2 separate regions of the Homo sapiens genome follow, and region 1 is linked to region 2. Evidence: promoter capture Hi-C in 16 types of primary human blood cells and fetal thymus (Javierre and others, 2016). All regions are on one chromosome and are shown on one strand. Each heading gives the region's core, a stretch centred on a gene start or on the middle of the fragment in contact. The rest is flanking DNA. Distances are from core to core; before and after follow the strand shown. Region 1 overlaps CEP164 (centrosomal protein 164). Region 2 holds the start of APOA4 (apolipoprotein A4).

Region 1 (3,342 bases), core at 214-2,713, 530 kb after region 2:
TTCCTGGGGAAGGTGGGAGCATAGGCAGCGGGAGGAGGAGGAGAGAACCTCCTGGACTGTGGATGGAACAGGTCTCCAAGCTTGTCAATAAGGATATCCCAGGAAGCTGCAAGGAAACAGAGCCCAGTGACCCTGAGGCTCTAGGGGCCTCAGCTGAAGATCTACCTCAGGGTCTCTTGCTAATACCACCTGAAACCCTGGCATCAGAACCAGCTCAGAATCCCCTTTTAGGGAGGGCTCCCGAGGAGCCTCCTGCCAGTGAGAAGAGACAGGCCCTAGGGTCTGCAGAGCTCCCTTATAAAGATCAGAAGCCTAGCTTGTCTGGGCCTGACTTGGAGAGCAGCAGCAGCAGCAGCAGCAACAGCAACCTGGCCTCACACCTGGGCTCTCCTGTCCTGGATGAGGTGAACAACTTCCCTTGGAACCTGCAGAGCTCACGGGGATCTGAGGAGGGTATGGCTCAGTCAGACTCGGGTCTCAGAGATCAACACTTCAGCCCCTTCTTAGATCCTCACATGTCCCACATGCAGAGCCCTGACGAGGAGCAGTCAGAAAGTGAAGACTACTCTGAGGACCAGAGGTTCTACCAGCACATCCTGCAGATGGTCAAGATCTCCAGGTGGCCGGAGGGCCTGGGGCTGCCTGAGAGCATGCAGGACATGCCGTGCAGACACAGCGCCAGCACAGTCTGTTGCATGGCAGCTGAGTCTTCTAGGATGTCTAGTGAGGGTGAGCACGAGGCCATCAGAGTCATGGAGAGGGACTCGAGGTTTCTGTCATGGGAGCCAGAGCTGCTGGAACATCCTCAGGAGGTGGCCCTCGCCCCTGCTTGGCAAGAGGCCTCTCAGCAAGCCCATTTCCAGCCAAGCAGCAGCACCCTCAGGCAGGGGCTAGTCCAGCAGAGCTCCAGCAGAGGGCTTACTACAGAGCCAGGCAAGATGCAGCATCTCAACCAGGTAGGCTTCTTAGTGAGCATGGCCTAAAGGCCTAAACTTGGCAGGGAGGGAGCAGGTGGAGTTGATGTCTTACCACAGCCATCAGGCCTGCATTCCTGTTACCCACCCTACCGTGGTAACTATTGGCCCTTTAACTACCCAAATGGCCATTTTATGGAATGACACATACTTGAAGTTTCTTCTACTCCATCACCTGCAAGATAGGGCTGAGGGTATCTCTGATTTCCCTTCCCTGGCTGTAATTGTAATTCATGGGTGGTTCATGTGCTTTGAACATGATCAGTTTTGCGGGTGAGCAGAACGTCGCTAATCCTGGCATTCGTGCAGGATATAAACACCTTCCTGGGATTTGGGAAGTTTTTCCTATCAGCTGATTCTAGAGAGAGGTCCTTCCTATTTGGAAATAGGCAGCCTACCCCAAAGCTCTGAACTTTATTTCTTCTCGAAATCAGACAGAACTAGAAAGTTAATATTATTTTTTATTTTTATTTTATTTTTTAGACAGGGTTTTGTTCTGTTGCCCAGGCTGGAGTGCAGTGGATCTTGGCTCACTGCAATCTGCACCTCCATCGCTTGAATCCCAGGTTCAAGTGATTTTCGTGCCTCAGCCCCTCAAATAGCTGGGATTACAGGTGCTCACCACCACTCCCAGCCAATTTTTTTGTGTTTTTAGTAGAAATGGAGTTTTGCCATGTTGGCCAGGCTGGTCTCGAACTCCTGGTCTCAAGTGATCCACCTGCCTTGGCCTCCCCAAGTGCTGGGATTATAGACATGAGCCACTGCACCTGATTAGAGAGTTAATATTCTTTTTTTTTTTTTTTTTTTTGACAGTCTTGCTCTGTTGCCCAGGCTGGAGTGCAATGGTGCCATCTCAGGTCATTGCAACCTCCACCTCCTGGGTTCAAGCTATTCTTGTGCCTCAGCCTCCTGAGTAGCTGGGACTACAGGCGTGTGCTAACACACCTGGCTAATTTTTGTATTTTTAGCAGAGACGGAGTTTTGTCATGTTGGCCAGGCTGGTATCAAACTCCTGACCTCAAGTGATCTGCCTGCTTCAGTCTCCCAAAGTCCTGGGATTACAGGTGTGAACTGCCGTGCCTGGGCTGAGAGCTAATATTCTTATGAGAGACGGAGGCCAGAACCTTTCTCTGCCATCCAGTGAGCTGCTTCTGCTCTTTGCCTCCTAGGGTCCCCAGAAAACCACATGGATAACCTGTGTCAGGCTTGTGTAGACCATATTTGTGACGTCACTCTTGAGTTCACTTCCTCCTCTACTGGGATTTATCAAATGGCTGACCTTGCCCTATCATTCTACCTTTGTCCCTTTAAAGAGTCACTATATTCTTCATTCAGAAGTCAAGTTGGATCAGAGACCATGGGGATCAATCTGAATTTCTCCAGCTATTCTTTTGTTGTTGCCCAGCTGTGGCTTTATCCAGTTGTTCCCTCTGCTTCCTAATTGCTGGCTTGCACTGGTTCTCTGTTAGCTTTAATAACTACTGTAGCACTATAAATATCGGATAAGCTGCAGATTATCCTGAAAGTTTTAATTAGCCCAGTGGCAGTAAGTCTATCTGCTCTGAAGGACAACTCCACGCATAGCCCCATACTCAGAGTTAATGGCCATCTATAGAAGATGATCAGCTAGGAGCCAGGAATGTATAATTTCTCCACTAATCGCTGATTTGGTCAAGGCCTGGGAGAACAAAGCCCTCAGCATGCTTGTCTCCCTCCCTCAAGCCCCCAGCATGTTAGCAAATTAGCCAGCCATGTTAGGAGTCTGTATTTCCATAAATACAGTGTGGGGATAATTTTGCTTGCTGATACATAGGCTGGTTTGAAGGGCTGAAACCAGGAGGGGCATGCCTGGTTTGCCTAGTTAACCTTGAAGAAGCTTTCTTGGGCTCTTCCCCTCCCCCGGCCTTTTTTTTTTTTTTTTTTAAGAGACCAGAGTTTTGCTCTGTTGTCCATGCTGGAGTTCAATGGTGTGATCGTAGCTCATTGCAGCCTTGAGCTCCTGGGCTTAAGCAATCCTCCCGAGTAGCTGGGACTACAGATGTGTACCACTATACCCAGCTAATTAAAAATTATTTTTTTGTAGACATGGGGTCTTACTGTGTTGCCCAGACTGGTCTTGTACCCCTGGCCTAAAAGTGATCCTCCTGCCTTGGCTTCCGAAAGTACTGGGGTTATAGGTGTCAGGGACCATGTATGTCCTAGGCTCTTCTTTCTGCCACAGCCAGAGCTGGTATAAAGTACTGTCTTAGAGATAGCCTTGGGTTCCAATCCCATCTCTGCCCCTCACTGGCTCTGTGACTTTGGGCAGGGTTCTTTTTTTTTTTTTTGAGACAGGGTCTCACTCTGTAACCCAGGCTGGAGTGAAATG
Region 2 (3,072 bases), core at 1-2,500:
CTAAGTTACGATGCTGAATTTCTATCTCAGGATCTCCCACATAGTTTGTCTCAGAATCTACCCACCATGTCACCTCCAGCAGTTTGCTTTCCCCTCCTTGTCTGCAGAGGGTGGGACTTTGAGGTCCTTCCCAGAGGGAGTGTTCTGGGCCATAGGATCACATTGTGTAACACAATGTTGTCTTCTTGACCTCTGCTGGGGTCTTCCAGTGGCACAAGGTGCTGCTTTCCTTGCCTGTGCCCAGGGGCCTCCCAAATATTCCCACCTCCCTCCCCTTGATTCCACTGGGGCCTGTCTTTCTGAAACGTATTAGAAATCAGCTCACGTGACATTTTCCTCCCTCCCTCTCTTCCATGAGCCTGAATGATAGGATGTGGCCATTTGTCAAACTCTAGAACGTCAAAGCAAAAGGACATGGCAGGGATTATTCGGTCCAAACTTCCGGTTTACATATGTGGATCCTAGGTTCAGAGGCCCGGCCAGTTAGTGGCAGGGCAGTGGGTATCCTAAGCTCAGGGCTCCTGTCTCTAAGCTCAACCCTTGCCAGTACATTGCATGGCCTTTAAGAATTCCCCGTCACCACCGCACACTGTAGTCCCTCTTACTTGAGTTGCTGGGTGAGTTCAGATTTCTGGAGATGTTCCACGGCCTCCTTGGCATTGTTGCTCAGCTGGCTGAAGTAGTCCCACATCACCGTGGCCACCTGGTCAGCACTGACCTCAGCCCTGGCTCCTGGGTGGTAACAGAGAGCAATTCATGAGGCCCCGTCTCCTGTGTGGCCCCTCTGCTCCAGCTCTGAGCTGCAGACTGGATGATGGTGGGGGTGCCTCAACCTGCCATTTTCCCTGTCTGAGCTTAGCTTTTTGGAAGCCACAGGGATATGTGAAACTGGTATAGCACCAATGCCAATGGGCCCACCACTGGGACTGGGCCAGCTCTCCTGTGAGCCACTTGGCAGCCAGGCAGACCTCATGTCCAGCTGGGGGCTGATGGGCACTCAGAAGTGTCCTTTTGCTTTGGCTCAGCCTCCATCCTGCACTACTCAGAGCAGCAGCCCAGGAGTGCCATCCAAAGACAGCTTCTACTCACCGGCGACAGCCACCAGGGCCAGGGTCAGGACCACGGCCTTCAGGAACATCCTGAGCTGCTTGCTGGGCTGGAGGAGTTTCTTGCCACACTGGATCCTCCCTACAATCAGGGGAGCTGACAGAGAGGTCCTCAGGAGAGCTCACCTGCGCTGCAGTGGGAACTGACTGAAGCTCAGAGCCAGCCAGACATTTAAACTCTCTCCCTATCGCCACCCCCCTGGCTGCCCTCCCCTCCTCCTTCCTCAGTGTGACTCCACGCTGGAAGGTGACACATTCCCAAGAGGCCTCTTGGACTTTTGTGACCCTGAGACTACGTGGAAGCTGACAGCAGATCAGGGCTCAGGCGATAGTTAGAAGTGGTGGCTGTTCCGTGCGTGGGCACCCCCACCCCCACCCCACCAACCTCAGCATGGAAGGGAGGAGGGGAACGGAAAACAGTAGGAGAAACACCTCAGGGAGCCCATGAGCCCGGGACTGATGCCTCGAGGCCCTGCTGGCGGCTCTGGGTTTGTGCCGGGCTCATGGGGGGCAAAGTCCACATCTCCTCTGTCTACCCCAGTGAAGACAGGTCCCCCCAGTCTCCACATCCGCCACTAATGCTGACTCCATCTCAGAGCACCAGACACTGGAGTGGGACCATCCAGGACTGCAGACAGCATAGTGAGCTAAAATCTAGGTCTCTTGTCAAGGTACACCCAAGAGGAGGGGGCCCTGGAGAGCCTTTGGGCAGATGGGTGTGGGAGACAGGGCCTTGTCCTGAAAGGGTTAATTGTAGAGTGCTTCATGTCCCACTCCCATGCTGTGCCTCCTTGGTCTAGTTATTCAAAGCCCTGAGCTTCAGTTTCTCCTCTGAACAATGGGATGGTTCAGTACATTAAAGAAGACATTGCTTGCGAAGTGGGTAGTACGGTCATCTCTCAGTCTCCATGGGAAATTGATTCCAGGACCCTCTGCAGATACCAAAATCCATGGATGTTCAAGTCCTTGATATAAAATGGCATAGTATTTGCATATAACCTAAGCACAGCCTCCCACATACTTTAAATCTCTAGATTACTTATAATACCTAATACGACGGAAATGCTGTGTGAATGGTTGTTATACTGTATTGTTTAGGAGGTAATCACCAAAAAAGTCTGTATATGTTTAGTACAGGTGCAATTTTTTTTTTTTTTGAGATGGAGTCTTACTCTGTCACCCAGGCTGGAGTGCAGTGGCACGATCTTAGCTCACTGCAATCTCTGCCCCCCAGGTTCAAGTGATTCTCCTGCCTCAGCCTCCTGAGTAGCTGGGATTACAGGCACCCACCACCACGCCCAGCTAATTTGTGTATTTACAGCAGAGACGGGGTTTCACCATGTTGCTCAGGCTGGTCTCCAACTCCTGGCCTCAAGCAATCCTCCCATGTGGGCCTCCCAAAGTGCTGGGCTTATAGGCGTGAGCCACTGCGCCCTGCCCAGATGCAATTTTTTTAAAACATTGTTTTTAATGGAGATGGGGTGTCGCTATGTTGCTCAGGCTGGTCTCCAACTCCTGGCCTTAAGTGATCCTCCAATCTCTGCCTCCTAAAATGCTGGGCTTACAGGCATGAGCCACTGCACCCGGCCCACAGATGCAATTTAAAAAAAAAAATATATATATATATATATATATATTTTTTTTTTTTTTTTTTTTTTTGAGATGGAGTCTTGCTCTGTCACCCAGGCTGGAGTGCAGTGGCACGATCTCGGCTCACTGCAAGCTCTGCCTCCCGGGTTCACGCCATTCTCCTGCCTCAGCCTCCCAAGTAGCTGGGACCATAGGCGCCCGCCACCACGCCCGGCTAATTTTTTTTTTTTTTTTTGTATTTTTAGTAGAGATGGGGTTTCGCCGTGTTAGCCAGGATGGTCTCGATCTCCTGACCTCGTGATCCGCCCGCCTCAACCTCCCAAAGTGCTGAGATTACAGGCGTGAGCCACCACGCCCGGCCTAAAAAATTATTTTC

Evidence for each region. Contacts are between HindIII fragments. The CHiCAGO score rates a contact against its expected background, and 5 or more counts as called.
Region 1: a fragment that was not itself captured here is called in contact with the fragment with the promoter of APOA4 in region 2 in 1 of 17 cell types (neutrophils); the score reaches 6.2 in neutrophils.

What each region holds. Positions count from the first base shown.
Region 1 is chr11:117,355,662-117,359,003 of GRCh38, forward strand. All of the region lies in intron 5 of CEP164 (centrosomal protein 164), which reads left to right. Among named protein-coding and RNA genes, the nearest start is that of CEP164, 29 kb to the left of the region's middle. The HindIII fragment of the contact is 2,770 bases long and covers 79-2,848 here.
Region 2 is chr11:116,822,054-116,825,125 of GRCh38, forward strand. It overlaps APOA4 (apolipoprotein A4), which reads right to left and starts at 1,251. Exons shown (of 3, transcript NM_000482.4): 1 at 1,090-1,251; 2 at 606-732. The coding sequence starts at 1,138. The HindIII fragment of the contact is 18,172 bases long and covers 1-3,072 here.